2 separate regions of the Homo sapiens genome follow, and region 1 is linked to region 2. The links are contacts of gene promoters, found by promoter capture Hi-C in human tissues and cell types (Jung and others, 2019). All regions are on one chromosome and are shown on one strand. Each heading gives the region's core, a stretch centred on a gene start or on the middle of the fragment in contact. The rest is flanking DNA. Distances are from core to core; before and after follow the strand shown.

The links. The method cuts DNA at HindIII sites, captures the fragments that hold promoters and counts their contacts. A contact is called where the count stands out against the background at its distance.
Region 1: a contact is called between a fragment that was not itself captured here and the fragment with the promoter of ERVFRD-1 in region 2, in 1 of the 25 tissues and cell types used here (lymphoblastoid cells).

The regions. Positions count from the first base shown.
Region 1 is chr6:11,472,348-11,475,047 of GRCh38, reverse strand. All of the region lies in intron 1 of LOC105374928 (a long non-coding RNA gene), which reads right to left. Among named protein-coding and RNA genes, the nearest start is that of TMEM170B, 64 kb to the left of the region's middle. The HindIII fragment of the contact is 6,820 bases long and covers 1-2,700 here.
Region 2 is chr6:11,110,244-11,113,055 of GRCh38, reverse strand. ERVFRD-1 (endogenous retrovirus group FRD member 1, envelope) reads left to right here and starts at 1,331. Exons shown (of 2, transcript NM_207582.3): 1 at 1,331-1,379. All of the region lies in intron 1 of SMIM13 (small integral membrane protein 13), which reads right to left. The HindIII fragment of the contact is 12,472 bases long and covers 1-2,812 here.

The DNA.
Region 1 (2,700 bases), core at 46-2,545, 360 kb before region 2:
AGGATCTAAAATAAGTATGTTGTGAAAATCCAAAACAAAATATGTTGATAAATTTTAAGGTAAATTTTAAGATACCATGTTTCACACTCTAGAAAATAGAAAAAAATAAAGTACCTCTAAAACGTCTTGGGGGAAAAAAGTTAAATATAAAACTTTGCTGATCAAGATAAAAGATCCAATGTTAAGTACTCTTTTATTGGAAGAAAAAGAGAAAAGAAAGGGCTAAAGAAAGACAGGGTTTGATTAAGAGGTGCCACATCTGAGCTAGTTTAAGTGGTTGAACTCAATCTCTTGAGCTGTGCAATCAGGAAAATCATAGTCAGTGTTTGTTAACCATTTTTCTCTGGGTTTCCATATTTTGCAGGACTCTTCAGCCATGAAAAGCGTGAAAGCACGGTCAGGATTACAGGGACAGCCGGAGCTCAGTGAGGGGCTAAGATCAGAGTGGACTGGCGACGTTGGGACTATTTTCTGGGAGGGGCTGGTCTGCAGGTAAATCCTATTGGATGCACACGGATTTTGCTAGAGAGAAAGAAGTGGGTGGTGAGGAAAGAGTGGGAAGATAGAGACATGTACAAAACAAAAAGCAGTTAGAAAAACTAAGTTAGACTTTCCTACCTCCAGGAAAAAGGGTTTAAAAGGGCACTCCGATGGAAACAGGCAACATTTAGTATAGTCATAGAAGTGGAACGGGATGAAGCTATGGTGGGTTTTGAGCTGCAGCTGGTATGGACAGGCAGTAAGAAGCTACTGGAAACCTCAAGCAAGGGTGGTATCAAGGGGCTGGTGTTTCAGGAAGGGAAACGTTTGTCAGTGTCAGGCTAGTTGCAAGGACATAAGCTTGGAGTCAGTCCTTGATACCACATCTGCAACTAGGGTGTAAAGTGTAGTAAACTGGAGATCTGCATTCTGATGGTAATAATTTTAATAGAGATAAAGGAGTGATTCCAAGAGGCAGTATATGGTATTTTACTTAATTCTTATAATAGTCCCCTCCAAATAGGTATTATTATTCCAATTTAGAGGTAACTGAGTCTCACTGATTTATTAAATAAGTTACTCAAGGTCAAACAGTGGAAGCGAGGTTCAGAACCGGCAGATTCAGTGAGTGGTGGATGAGTATGAATCGAAGTATTTTTATTAGCATGTTTTATAAAACTGATTTTTGTTTTTTATTTTCCTTATTTCTCCTAGGTCTGGGAGCCCAAAATTGGTTTCTGTACATATGTATATCAAAGACAAGTGCGGGGTAGGTAATGCCAAAAGTGAAAAAGGATGGCCAGGTTTTTTTTAGTTTTCATTTTGAAACTAAGTATTTGGTTTTACATAAATCAAAGACGAGTTCCTTAAAATAAACAACAGTCTAATAAAGACTGATAATGGGCGATTACCAGCTGATTAAGGCAAGCGCCCTTCACTAAGTTTGCTCCAAGTGTGTCCCTCTGGGTGGTGGTGACCCTGCGCTGAGAGTAATCGCAACCAGAGGTCTGAAGAGCACCTGCTCTGAGCGATATTGCAGTGCTTTGCAGAACCCGGGCAGCCCACCTGGGTAATTCAGAAGCAGCGCAGAATCCACTTGCAACACCAGGGTGAGAGGGCAAAGCTGAGCTGAGAGTTGAAAATACAGCTCAAGTTTTAGAAATCCAGATTTTAAAAACTGGGAAGCCCTCTTTCTAAAGAAAAACAGAAGCTCGCAGTTTTGTTTCATTATCCACCGGTGCCTTGGAGCCATGAACTTTCCCCCACTTCGGAAACGTCTCTGGAAAATTCATTTCATGCTTGTCTACTCCAGTAAAATCCTTGACTGAACTGTTACAAAACAGGAGACTTGGCCCCAGGAATGTGAGAAATCACCCGATACGGTGGAGCCAGTTGGCATCCTCAAGAGCCCTGGGCTTCTGACCTTGGGTTTACCTGTCATCTTGGACCGTGACCTTCTCCCAGCAGAGGGGACTTTCTGATTGTCCCTGTGCCACGGGACAGGGAAGTGGACAGAGCACATGTATCACATTCTTTCACACCCTAGAAAATAGCCCCTAGCCAAGGGAGGGCTCCCAGATCCCAAAATGCTGAGATTATAGGCATGAGCCACTGTATGTGGTGATTATTTTAGATATATATCCAGAAATGGTATTGCTAGAGCATCTGGTAATTCAATGTTTAATTTTTTGAGGAACCACACGCTATTTTCCACACTGGCTGCATGCACCATTTTACATTCCCACCAAGAGTGCATGAGGGTTCTATCTTCTCTACATCCTCGCCAACACTTATTTTCTAATGTTTTTAATAGTAGCCATCCAAATTAAGATGGCCTAATAGTAGCCGTCCTAATTTTTAAATAGCAGCATTAGTACATTTCTAAATCGCATCTCAGGTGCTTAGAACTGGAAAAGTTTGAATCTTGATTCATGGCACATGCATCACCACTGCATGGGTGCATCTTTCATGTAGTCCAATTTTAATAATATAACAAATACCCGTGAACTTGCCACCTGCTTTAAGAGCCAGGACATCATAATTAGTTCATTATCCATGTGATCCTCAACTAATGCATTCATTTACCTACACCAGAGGTAAACGTGACCCTGAATTTTTACATCTTTGTTTTGAAAATGCTTTTATTATATCTATATGCAAATGTATGTATATCTAAAACATATATTATTTACTTCTGCCTGTTTATGAACTTCATAACAG
Region 2 (2,812 bases), core at 82-2,581:
AGTTCGAAACCAGCCTGGCCAACATGGTGAAACCCCGTCTCTACTAAAAATACAAAAAAATATATAATAAAATAAAATAAATTAGCCAGGCATGGTGGCAGGTGCCTATAATCCCAGCTACTTGGGAGGCTGAGGCAGGAGAATTGCTTGAACCCAGGAGGCAAAGGTTGCAGTGAGCCAAGATCATACCACTGCACTCCAGCTTGGGCGACAGAGCAAGACCCCATCTCAAAAAAATAAATAAATAAAACAATAATAATACTAACAGCCAAAAGCTGGAAACCACTCTCATGTCCATCAATGAGTAAATGGATAAACAAATTGTGGTATATCTATACAATGGAATACTCTTTCAGCAATACAAAAGAATGTATTACTGATATACACAACACAAATAGATTTCAAAAGCATTATGCTAGCAGAAAGAAGTCAAACACAAAAAGCATGTTGTGTGATTTGATTTACATTAGAAAGGTAAATTTATGTTTATGGAAAGCAGTTTGGGCCAGGTGTGGTGGTTCATGCCTGTAATCCCAGCACTTTGGGAGGCCAAGGACAGCAGATCACTTGAGGTCAGGAGTTCAAGATCAGCCTGGCCACCATGGTGAAATCTTGTCTCTACTAAAAATACAAAAATTAGCTGGGCATGGTGGTGCACACCTGTTAATTCCAGCTATTCAGGAGTCTGAGGCACAAGAATCACTTGAACCCGGGAGGTGGAGGTTGCAGTGAGCCAAGATTGCATCACTGCACTCCAGCCTGGGAGACAGAGCGAGGCTGTCTCCAAAAAAAAAAAAGCAAGCAGTTCTATCAGGAGGCCATTAGGTTAAGCTGGTTCTGTTAGAGTAGGTAGTCAGGCAGACATGAGCAGGGCAGGAGAGGGCCCCCAGCTCAGGAATGTCAGGCGACCATCAGGTGATGATCAGGCGGTTGTTACACTGTTTCTCTAAAATAATAATAATGGGTTGCAGCCAGTACCAGGGAAAGACAGTCTCCCAAAAGACAGGAAACACCGGAAGCTGGTGATCAGCAACTTCCTGATAAGATCTCCGAAGCTGGGCAAGTGGGCTCAAGCATGCGCACTAAGAAGCAAAATGACAGTTTAACCAGTATGTGACCTTCCTCTAGGAACACCTGACTGATAAGGGAAAAATGTCTCAAGAAAGCATGCGCACAACTTCAGTAAACAAATGCACATGTGGCTCCTCCCAAGTGCTGACAGGCCACTGCACAGCAGACAGCCCACCCCAAGGAAAAAAATCCAAGGAGGAGAAATGGAAACCCCGGAACCATGCCGATGTATAAAACCCCAAGTCAAGGGCTGAACAGGGCACTTGGATCTCTCAAATGGTGCAGTGACTCGGATACCTTCCCTAGTGGTAAGACACCTCTACGCCTTGCCTTCTTCGGCTGGAGGCGTTCAACCCTCGTACGTGGTTTCGTTCTCCTCTTTCACTCTCCTGCTTACTAACCTACCCCTGGAACGATTCCTCTCAACCACAGTGGCTCTGCTCCCCCTGGCTGCTCTCTCTGCTCACCCCGAAGGATGGCTTGCAGGGGTGGGAAGGACCTTGGAGTCTGCACTAAGTAGACCTGAGACACTAATGGCCCCCCCAGACAGGAGGCTGATGAGAGCGGTAGGGCTAAAACCTACAACCATGTAGTATCTGGGGTTTCCTCTGCTTTTTCAACTAAAATCAGCTCTTTCCCAAAAACCCACCACCACCTATTTTCCTTTCTCTGTATGTATTCCAAAATGACCTCGCACACCCATTGGACCAACTGCCTTGGGGGTAAGTCTGTCTTTTCTCTGTTCTTACTTTGCATGCCCTGCAACTTTCTTCTCTGCCTTAAACACACATTCCCTATTTGTTATTCATGCACCCGCAGCTCTTGCTGTGTTAGCCTGGCAACCAAGAGATGGACTCCCTTACGGATGTCCCTTGATATTTATACTTGTTACCCTACCAGCTCGGATGACCTCCAACCCTTTCCCTGTCTGTTGGCTCACTGCCGGGATAGACACTAATCAGAACCTTAGCTCTGTCAGCTCCTTATGACTTACCATATGCTTTTCATCCCTGTTATGCTCCAGGGCCATGTTTCTCCCTGGCTTTTGAATGGTTTGCTTGCTTGCATAGGACCTCACTCTGTAGCCCTTAAGGACCCCACCCACTCGCTTTTTTTCTGAGTTAGCACCCCTTTGTGGGGAAGGAAAATTCTCTGCCGTTTGCAGGGTCTTATCCCAAACACCAAGTCCTCCAGAGGTTCCTCCTTTATATCAAGAGGGCAAATAAACGTTGCCCTCTCAAATCCAAGGGCTGCTGTTTCTGCAAACATATGAAGGCTTTCCATGAGTATTCCTCTTGCTTCCTCCCGCTTTCTCCTGTAGCAGAGGGATTGTTCTACCTCGTTAAGCATTTGTTCTGCATGTTACCCTGGGAGGATGAAGAATCCCAAATACAAATTTTCCTCCATTCCTCTAATCACCTCCAGGCCCTTCTCAATATGTATCAGGACCTTCAAAGTTATATTTGAAGGGAGAGAAGTCCAGCCCCCTTGCAGCAATTGGCAGAAAAACAGGCTTCTCGTCTTCTTAAAGAACATGGGAAATGAGAATCTGAGAAGAGATAATCATTCTGTTGCTAGAATGCTCTGAACAAGGGTCACTATAAGGTCATGGAGACAAGGATATAGGACAGCCCAAGGAGGCAGATGCAAGAGACCAAAGTACCCATAGAACAGAGATGAAGACTAGTTCCAGGCTACAAACACAAAACAGATTACCACTGCAACACAGATGAAGGCTGGT